2 separate regions of the Homo sapiens genome follow, and region 2 is linked to region 1. Evidence: promoter capture Hi-C in 16 types of primary human blood cells and fetal thymus (Javierre and others, 2016). All regions are on one chromosome and are shown on one strand. The core of a region is centred on a gene start or on the middle of the fragment in contact, and the rest is flanking DNA. Distances in the headings are between cores, read along the strand shown.

Region 1 (5,673 bases), core at 1,078-3,577:
ATATAAATTATAAACTGGAAAAAAAATACAAGCAATTCCTATCAAAGTAATTGGGTTTAATCCCTTAATATAAGTTTCTACACATCAGTAAGTGACAACCCAAAAGAAAAATGTGCAAAGGACATGAACAGTTCATAGAAAAAAAGGGTTCTTTAAGAATATGAAAAGATGTTCAACCTCACTGAGGTTTAGACAAATCCACATTAAAACCACAATGATACATCCATCTTTTAATTTATCAGATGAGCAAAGATACACTGCAAGATGAGCAAGATACAATGACAGGTGATGCTGGGGAAGGGGTGGCGGAAACGGCACTTTCATACATGGTTGATGTGAGTGTAAACTGACACAACCTCCATGGAGGACAATTTGTCAACTCCAATCACAACTATTTAATACAAGGCACACATCTGTTGGCCCAGCAGCTTCATTTCTAAAAATTAACTAACTGATTGAGACATGGTCTCGCTCTGTTGTCCAGGCTTGAGTACAGTGGCATGACCATGGCTGAACTGCAGCCTCAACCTCCCAGGCTGAAGTGATCCTCCAACCTCAGCCTGTAGCTGGCACTACACGCCCAGCTATTTAAAAAAAAAATTTTTTTTTGAGATGAGGTCTCCTTATGTTGCCCAGGCTGGTCTCAAACTCCTGGACTCAAGGTATCCTCCCACCTCTGACTCCCAAAGTGCTGGGATTATGGGTGTGAGCCACTGTGCCTGGCTCATTTCTACAAATTTATACTACATATACACTTACAAAAGTGGGGGAAAAACACGATTAAGGTTATTAACTGTAGTATTATTTAAAATAGTGAAAGACTGGCAATAATTTAAATATTCACAATAAATGGCTGGTTAGATAAATTAAGACAGACAAAATGATTTATGCAGCCATAGCAATGACACAGAACGTTATGCACTGATATAGAAGGATTTCTAAGACAGAAAAGAAAGCAAAATGTAGAGATAGGTGTATATATATGGTACCATTTATGTAAAAAAGATACACCCGTATTTCATACACATAAATGAGTATGTATATGCTTGAAAAGGTATATAGTATCCCTGAAAGATATAAAATGCAGTTGTAAAAATAATTGCTTCCTATCAGGGCAATGGTTATGGCTGAGATAAAAGTGGAAACAATTTGACTTCACTATGTATCTTTTAAAGTTTGCACCACGTGTTTCATGTGTATATATTACCTATTCAAAACTTAAATATACACAAGCACAGAGCAAACTGTGAATCTGCCTATCTCTAACTAACTCCTCCACCTTGAAAGTCCAGTCTCCAAACAAAATAATATTAAAAACAAAGTTAATTTCTGTTCCTTATCTGCTTAAAATCTTCCAGTGGTTTTGCATCAAACTCAGAGCAAAAGCCTGCCCTCTGACCCCTCGGCCCTCCTTTCTTACTATTCTCCCCTTAACTCACTCTGCCTCTGCTACACTGGCATTTTGGCTGCTCATGGAATAGGTTAGGCACTCTTCTGCCTGTCTTTGCATTTGCTGTTCCAACTGACTGGAATGGCAGCTCACTCCTTCCTGTCCTTTAGGATTCTGCTCAAACATTTCCGTGATGTGTTTGTCGATCATCTCATTTAATACTAACGCGCTCCCACTCCTTATCGTCCTTCCTTGTTTTATTTTCTTTTATAGCACTACCCCGCGTCTGCTGTACTATGTGTTTAAAAGTTTGTTTACTGTTTCTCTCCCTTAATTAGGATGCTCCAAAAAAGAGGGCTTCTGGGGCATACAGTGACACGTGCATGTACTCTATGAGAACAGAAATGAAAATTCCAATACCACTGGTGTTCAAAACACTCATACCACAAGGTCAGGACCAAGAAAAGCCACTCTCCGACCTGATGGTGTGATGGTTATACCACGTCAATAAAATCAGAAGATCGCCTACATCCTAAGAATAGCCAGAGAATACAACGTTCAATTCGAAACTTTTCTTTTGTAAACAGCAGTGGAAACCGGCGTGGGAAGCGCACCGAACACATGCTTCAGAGGCTGGGATCTCGGTCCTGGACGCCCGCGCTCTACGCAGCGCGGAAGCGGCGGGGCAGTCAGCCTAGCCACCTTCGGAACTCTCCACGCCTGATCCCGTTCCCCGGAGCCCGCGGCCGTTACCTTGGTGCCTCCGAGCCGTAACACTTCCTCCAGGGAGAACCCATTCTCGGCTTCACTAGTATTATCCTCATCCTCCTCGTCCGGATCTTCTACTGCCTCCTCGGGGCGCCAAGGCCGCTTGGCATGGAACTCCAAAGGCTCCTTGACTGCGGCCATGGCGGGCAAAGCATACGCGCGTGAAACTCAGCCTATTTCCGCTCTGCCAGTGGCGTAATTCCTGTCGGGGCGTGTCTTCTCCCGGAAATGGTCTAAGCCCCAGCTCCTGGCGGAGCGAGCTAGCCTGCGAATTTCAGCATGAGTGTACTGCTGAGGTCAGGTTTGGGGCCGTTGTGTGCCGTGGCGCGCGCAGGTAAGCGTCAGTCCCCTCGAAGCCCGGTTGCCGTGGAAGCCGCGTGGGGCGCCTTCCTCAGCTCTTCAGTTGAGGGTACCGGGGGATCAAGGGCTCGGGGGCTCACTTCCACCTTGAAGGTACCCTGGGCTGGAAACGGGTCCGGTACAAACGCAATAGGGCTGCGTAGTCGTGGGCAAGTGGGTGCTGTCTCTGCGCCCCGTGGGCGTGCTAAGCACAGTAGCCCGCGGTCTGCGGTGGGGCGAGGTTAAGGGTTCACGAAGCTGTTTTGAAAACGCTCAGGCGGCTTGCGCTCGTGAATGGTCAGATTTATCATGGGGTCTGTTTAATTTGTGTTTTTCGCAGCCATTCCTTTTATTTGGAGAGGGAAATACTTCAGCTCCGGGAATGAGCCTGCAGAAAACCCGGTGACGCCGATGCTGCGGCATCTTATGTACAAAATAAAGTCTACTGGTCCCATCACTGTGGCCGAGTACATGAAGGAGGTGTTGACTAATCCAGCCAAGGTATGGGTCGGGTAGCCCGAGGACTAGGCCCTCTCTAGCCGATTTGCGAGGTGCAAGCCAGGAGGGAGAAGCCCGAAGGTTCTCAGCCCAGGCAGTGGGGGTGCCTGCCAGGGGAAGAGCCATTTCTGAGGACCTGGGGACAGATAATTTGTCAGTTGGTCAGGGCTGGCTCACGTCAGAGGCAGTGCCAGTAAAGAGGAGAGGACACGGTCCAAGGGTGTTTAGGAGACAGAATGTAGCTGATTGGATTTATGATGCGGGAAGGATGACTTTCCTACTTGGCTGATGGTGGGTGGTGTGGATTCATTGCTTTGGGAGAAGGAATACGGGAGGAAGGATGGAGAGTTCAGGCTGGTATATGAATTTGAAGTGTGTGGGACTCTTAGGTAGAAATCTCCAACAGGCAGCTGGAAATAGGAATTACTGCCTGGAAAGTCGTCTGTGTTGGAATGGCTTCAGCTGGCATTGGAGACATGTGCTGGGTTTTCTCACATGTGCAGTTGAGAATGCAGTCTGGGTCGTCTTCACTGTTCTAGGATTAGGCACAGTCACAGCTTTCTGACCCACGTTTCCTTGTCTGTTCTACAGAGCCATTTGGTGAAAGCCTATAGTCCTTTATTTTAGAATATTTCATCTTTTGCTGGGTTGAAATATGACCTCTGTGGAATTCTGGGGTTAGATTGGCCATTGTTGTTGGATATGGTAGTGTGACTCTAGTGTCGAGGTTTACCCAAGGCCGGTATCTTTCTTTCGATGCCGGTTAGGCAGGGCTGCAAGATAGGTGGCTTAGACTAGTGTGGTGGTACTAGAAATAGAAGAGGGTGATTTAGAAAGGGACTGACAGGATTTGCCGATGGATTGAGTGATGGAACGGAGGAATCAAGGCTGATTCGTACTTTTAGCTTGAGCAGTTGGGTGATGATGGTACCTTTTATTGAGATTAAGACAGACAGGACCAGGTTTGGAGGAGTACTAGGGAGAGGGCCTACACCAGGAGCTGCATTTTATACATATTTTGTTAGCAGTGACATGCAGGTGGAGATAGAAAGTAGGCAATTCGCTGTAAGAGTCTGGCGTTCAGGGCCGGACGTGGCGGCTCACGCCTGTAATCCCAGCACTTTGGGAGGCCAAGGCGGGTGGATCACGAGGTCAGGAGTTTGAGACCAGCCTGACCAACTTGGTGAAACCCCGTCTCTATTAAAAATACAAAAATTAGCCGGGCGTGGTGGCTTGTGCCTGTAATCCCAGCTAGTCAGGAGGCAGGAGAATCGCTTGAACCCGGGACGCAGAGGTTGCAGTGAGCCTAGATTTCGCCATTGCACTCCAGCCTGGGCAACAGAGCGAGACTCTGTCTCAAAAAAAAAAAAAAAAAAAGTGAGCCTGGTGTTCAGAAGAAAGACTGGGCAGGCATATATACATTTGCTCGTCATCAGCATATAGGTCATATTTAAAGCCAAGGAACCAGGGAGAACATACTGAGAGAAAGGAAGGTTTCCCAGCATTGAGAGTAGGGGTAACTCTAAAATGTAGAGGCTCTTAACCTAGGGACCCTTTAATAGAAATCAGGGGTTTCATGAAGCTGGATGGAAAAAATATTATACCTTTATTTTCACTAACTTTCAACTGAAATTTAGCATTTCTTCAATTATGAACATACGCAGCAACTAGTAGCATCAGCAATACCTGTGACTTTGTCATCTGTGGAAATCATTGGTATTTCCTTATCACAATACAGTGATCACAGGCATCTCAGGATTTCATCGTGCTCATCCTTACTTCAAAATTTTGTTAATTATTGGGTCTTTGGCTTGATTATGGGCTTTTTTGTTTGTTGGCTTTTTGAGATAGAGTCTCATTCTGTCACCCAGGCTGGAGTGCAGTAGTGCAATCTTGGCTCACTGCAACCTCCACCTTCAAGGTTCAAAGGATTCTTGTGCCTCAGCCTCCCGAGTAGTTGGGATTACAGGTGTATGTTTCCATGCCCAGCTAGGTTTTTTGTATTTTCAATGGAGATCGGGTTTTGCCTTGTTGGCCAGGCTGGTCTTGAACTCCTGGCCTCATATGATCCGCCTGTCTCAGCCTCCTAAAGTGTTGGGATTACAGGTGTGAGCCACTGTGCGCGGCCTAATTATATTTTTTTAATACACTAGTAAAGAAGTGTATATATCACATTTTTTAGAACATTTGATACACATTTTTCAGTTATTTCTTTGTGGTTCTGTGCATTTAAAAACACTCTGTGAAGGGGTCTATAGGCATCACTGGGCTACCACAGTGGTTCATAACACAAAAAAGCGTAAATACCCCAATAATGTTTCCTTATGAACGGAACTAGAAAGCCTAGAAGAAGAGATGTGTGGATTGAAAAAATGTTCTCAAAAATGGGAGTGACTTGATTTATTTTGAATGCTGAAGGGGGAAAGTTGAAGCTGGAAGAGAGAAGGGGACAGCTAAAAGGACTCAGGGGAGTTGTATGAGGAATGGTCCAGAGCACAGGCGGAGGGATTAGGTTTGGATGAGAGGAGAAGGGGAAGGCATTTCATTCTTGGAGTCCCCAGATTAGGTTAGAGGCCAGGTGGGGATGGGAAGCTGAGGAATTCGTATTTTATAACATTCTTTAATTCTGGAGTGAGACTGGGGCCCATGTCACCTGTAGTAAGGTGGTAGAATAGGAG
Region 2 (5,198 bases), core at 1,882-4,381, 1.1 Mb after region 1:
GTTTCACCATGTTGCCCAGGCTGGTCTCGAACTCCTGGGCTCAAGTGATCCACCCACCTCACTCAGCCTCCCAAAGTGCTGGGATTACAGGCATGAGCCACCACGCCTGGCCCATTATTACTTTACATACAGTCTTCTAAATCTGCTGTGTATTTTACACCTACAGCACATTTCAACTTAGACACTAAATGCTTATCAGAAACACATAATCATTTAATTTCATAAAACTTACAACTGAAAAAGTAGACATGTATAAAAGTTGTTCCAACAAAGTTTTCCAGTATAACCAAATCAAATATTAATCATTTTCCACTCATATTTGTATCCATACTAACAAAACTGTTAATGTAAATAAAATTAAATAAAACTGAAAATTAAGTTCTTCAGTCACACCATTCAAACTGCTTTAATACTCATTTCTTTCACTAACAACCATTTCTATACATGTTTCCTCTTGTATGAACGGTCTATTCACAATCTAGATAGTTTTAAAGAAATGTTTAAATTACCACCCTAAAGTCCCTTTAATTCTACACTAAATCAGATGTTTAAACAGTATTTTACGACAGGTTTTTTAATTCAAAAAACTTTGTGTTTGCTGTAAACTGGAGTACCTTGTATACAGTACATAATTTAATGCTGGAAATCTAATTTAAAAGGTTTAGCCGGCTGGGTGCGGTGGCTCACATCTGTAATCCTAGCACTTTGGGAGGCCGAGGCAGGTGGATCATGAGGTCAGGAGATCGAGACCATCCTGGCCAACATGGTGAAACCCTGTCTCTACTAAAAATACAAAAATTAGCTGGGCATGGTGGTGGGTGCCTGTAATCCCAGCTACTTGAGAGGCTGAGGCAGGACAATTACTTGAACCCAGGAGGCAGAGGTTGCAGAGAGCCAAGATCACGCCACTGCACTCCAGCCTGGCAACAGAGGAAGACTCCGTCTCAAAAATAAATAAATAAAATAAAAAGTTTATAGTTACTATATATATGTTTGTTTAATATACTTATGATTTACTTCCTACAGAACCCTCAGTCAGAAATGTTTCCTATCACATTTGGGATTAAGGAAAAAAAAAAAAGAAGTAGCATGGTGAAACCTCATCTCTACTAAAAATACAAAAATTAGCTGGGCGTGGTGGCACACCTGTAGTCCCAGCTATTCAGGAGGCTGAGGCAGAAGAATCGCTTGAACCCGGGAGGCGGAGCTTGCAGTGAGCCAAGATCGCACCACTGCACTCCAGCCTGCGTGACAGAGCAAGACTCCGTCTCAAAAAAAAAAAAAAAAAAAAACCTCTAGAGATACTTTTTTATATTGGGGAGGAAAAGCATTTTCCAAGAACTACAAGGTTTTAGGCATTAATAGAACATACATATACACCCTAGAATATATATCAAGATACATGACAACATTCAAGTTCTAGTACATATGCTTAAAAATTAGCCTCAATACTTAAAATTAAAACTATTACATCACTCCCACAGGCTTTATAGATTATGCAGCCCAATTTACTCATTTTAAAAATAAGAAAAACATACAATTAAACCACTGTTTGGGGGGAAATCAAGGCCAGGTCTTATTTAGTGTTATTTCCTCCACAGCAGTGCTAGTCAAGCTTAACATGAATACACATCACCTGAGTATCTTGTTAAAATGCATATCCTGATTCAATAAAACTGGGATTGAGCTTGAAACTGCATTATTATCAATCCAAGATGATGCCAAAATTGCTGGTCCTCAGGATATATGGACTAACAAGGGTCACTCTATTTCACAAGTGTTTAGGATGTAAGTGTCATTCATTTAATTCTATTTCATGTAGTTTCTAACAATATTAAAATAAAATTTTCAAGGAAGAAAAAAAGTTTTCAAGCTAAACTGTAATGCTCTATTTTTCCTGGGAGACTGCTAATACTGTGATACAACTAACCACTCCAGGGTTGCTATCAAGGGTTTGATATACCAAAGTTCAAAAAAGTCGAGGTACATAAAACAATCTCTACTTAAAAAAGGAAAAAGCTATAGAAATTATTTTAAAATGGCTGGGCGCGGTGGCTCACACCTGTAATCCCAGCACTTTGGGAGGCCAAGGCGGGCGGATCACGAGGTCAGGAGATCGAGACCACAGGGAAACCCCGTCTCTATTAAAAATACAAAAAAAGTAAGCCGGACACGGTGGCAGGCGCCTGTAGTCCCAGATACTCAGGAGGCTGAGGCCGGAGAATGGCGTGGACCCAAGAGGCGGAGCTTGCAGTGAGCCGAGACCGTGCCACTGCACCCCAGCCTGGGCGACAGAGCGAGACTCCGTCTGAAAAAAAAAAAAAATTATTTTAAAACGTTAACATGATATACGGCTAGGATTGAAAACTATCAGCTAGTTTAGCTCTATTAAACTATTAGTCTAGCTCATCCAATCACCTGGGTGAGCTTTTATAACAGTGCTGGGTCTCCCCCACAAGACTATTGCAGCCTGGGATACAAGTATTACAAGTACTGACAAAGACACAAACTTGGACTTCGATAAATTTTTTTTGAAGGAAAAAAACAGCTACTAGTCAAACAGATACTACAAGAAAATATTTTAACTTATAATCTGGTCCTGTAAAACATTAAGAACTTATAAACTCATATTTCTCTCATATAAAATTAGAACTACAATGCAAATTACAAAAACAAAAATTTTAAAGACTCCAGGAAACGACTTATTAACAATTTCAGTTATCAAATATTTTCTCCCTTAGACTTGTCCCTTTCTAGCCAACAACAAAAGACCATCCTAAAATAGACTTTTAAAAATGCTTTAAAGAGGGCAGCTGCAGTGGCTCACGCCTGTAATCCTAGCACTTTGGGAGGCCGAGGTGGGTGGATCACCTGAGGTCAGGCGTTCCAGACCAGCCTGGCCAACATGGTGAAACCCTGTCTCCACTAAAAATACAAAAATTAGCCAGGCGTGGTGCCACACGCCTGTAATCCCAGCTATTTGGGAGGCTGAGGCAGAAGAATCACTTGAACCCCAGAGCCCGGGAGAGGGAGGTTGCAGTGAGACAAGATCCCGCCATTGCACTCCAGCCTCAGTGACAGAACCAGACTCCATCTCAAAAAAAAAAAAAAAAATGCTTTAAAGAGTATATAATACCATTCATCTCCTTCCTTCATTACTATTAAATCAGGAAACAAAGAGTTGTTTTTCCTATAGGATTCACATACTATTTTCCACTTGAAATGTACCCCGTTTCCATAGTAACTACCACTGATGTCACAGAATTTTTGCTGTTCCCACTTAAAGAACACTAAGGCAAAAAATACTTTTATGCATTTATTAAAATAGACGAAGAAAAATGTAAAATGGTTTATAAATGTATAAACTCAAAAGTATTTTTCCCCAAAGTTTGTCATCAAATATTACCCAGTTCTTAAAAGCATACACCTGAATATGTAAGTGTACTTAAAAAAAATACTAAAGTTGGCCGGGCGCGGTGGCTCACGCCTGTAATCCTAGCCCTTTGGGAGGCCGAGGCAGGTGGATCACTTGGGGTCAGGAGTTCAAAACCAGCCTGGCCAATATGGTGAAACCCCGTCTCTACTAAAAATACCAAAAAAATAGCTGGGCGTGGTGGCAGATGCCTGTAATCCCAGCTACTTGGGAGGCTGAGACACGAGAATCACTTGAACCTGGGAGGTAGAGGTTGCAGTGAGATGAGATCGTCGTCCACTGTACTCTAGCCTGGGCAGAGCAAGGCTCCATTTCAAAAAAAAAAAAAAAAAAAAAGAATACTAAAGTAAATTTAAATTTGGTATTTTAAATGACGTTAAAATTTAGGAAGTCAACTTTGTTAGCTAGTCAGGAGATTCTAGAATAAGCGATGGCTCAGGGGATTCTTTTTTTTTTTTTTAAGATTTTGGGTGTTTTGCTTATTTGTTTTGAGATGGGGTCTTGCTCTGATGCCCAGGCTGCAGTACAGTGGCACAATCACAGCTCACTGTGGCCTTGACCCCCAAGGCTCAAGACATCCTCCCATCTCAGCTTTCTGAGTAGCTGGGACCACAGGCATGCACTACCACAGTCAACTAATTTAGTTTTTGTAGAGACCAGGTCTCACTATGTTGCCCAGGCTGGTCTCAAACTCCTGGACTAAAGGGATCCTCCTGCCTCAGCCTCCCCAAAGTGCTGGGATTCCAGGAGTGGGCCACCACACCCAGCCTCGGGGAACTCTATAATCAACAAGACAGAAATTCAGACATTTTATTCAGGTTCTGCAAGTCTCTTCATTTTCTTCTACAGAGAAGTCTTGAAGAAAATCTCACCTCAAGTCAAGACCAAAAAAAAGGGTCTTAGACGGGCTCTTAGGTACTTTTTTGGGGGGAAATGAGGGAGAACATACTTTTGTTATGTGGACCAGATTTTTAAAGAATGAGAGTACACAATATTGAAACTTTCTTACTTTAATATTTTTTAGGTAAGTTGTTTATATCCTAGAGAAATTCCTGCATACATATACAAGAAGAACGAAACATGGTTCCTTGTTCACCAAAGTATTGTTGGTAACTACAAAAAAAAAAATTGGAACAACCTAAATACCCATGGATAAATAAAAAATAAGTCAGAGAATTGAAATTAATGCATAAGATCTAAATATTTACATATGGATAAGCTTCCACACCAACGTGGAATGAAAAAAATTAAATCAAGCAGCCAGGCGCGGTGGCTCATGCCTGTAATCCCAGCACTTTGGGAGGCCGAGGCAGGTGGATCACGAGGTCAGGAGATCGAGACCATCCTGGCTAACGTGGTGAAACCCCATCTCTACTAAAAAATACAAAAAATTAGCCAGGCGTGGTGGCACACACCTGTAGTCCCAGCTACTAGGGAGGCTGAGGCAGAAGAATGGCATGAACCCGGGAGGTGGAGCCTGCAGCGAGCCGAGATCGCGCCACTGCACGCCAGCCTGGGTGACAGAGCAAGACTCCGTCTCAAAAAAAAAAAAAAAAAAAAAATTTAAATTAAATCAAGCTACAAAATACAGTCTGAACCACTCACCATGTTTTAAACACAACACAATACTGTATATTATTTATGAAATATACAAATGTTATAAGCTATTTAAAAACCAGAAAGCATACACCACTTTCAGGACAGGTGCATATCTACGAAGAAAGGGTAAAAGAGAAAGGTTATTGGGTGAACCATTCAACTGCAC

Evidence for each region. The method cuts DNA at HindIII sites, captures the fragments that hold promoters and counts their contacts. A CHiCAGO score of 5 or more calls a contact.
Region 2: a contact is called between a fragment that was not itself captured here and the fragment with the promoter of CEBPZ in region 1, in 1 of 17 cell types (monocytes). The highest score is 5.2, in monocytes.

The regions. Positions count from the first base shown.
Region 1 is chr2:37,229,269-37,234,941 of GRCh38, forward strand. CEBPZ (CCAAT enhancer binding protein zeta) reads right to left here and starts at 2,328. Exons shown (of 16, transcript NM_005760.3): 1 at 2,144-2,328. The coding sequence starts at 2,299. It overlaps NDUFAF7 (NADH:ubiquinone oxidoreductase complex assembly factor 7), which reads left to right and starts at 2,390. Exons shown (of 10, transcript NM_144736.5): 1 at 2,390-2,492; 2 at 2,838-2,998. The coding sequence starts at 2,438. RefSeq lists enhancers at 1,673-2,872, 1,830-2,279. The HindIII fragment of the contact is 13,102 bases long and covers 1-5,673 here.
Region 2 is chr2:38,356,381-38,361,578 of GRCh38, forward strand. All of the region lies in intron 1 of ATL2 (atlastin GTPase 2), which reads right to left. Among named protein-coding and RNA genes, the nearest start is that of ATL2, 18 kb to the right of the region's middle. The HindIII fragment of the contact is 3,037 bases long and covers 1,614-4,650 here.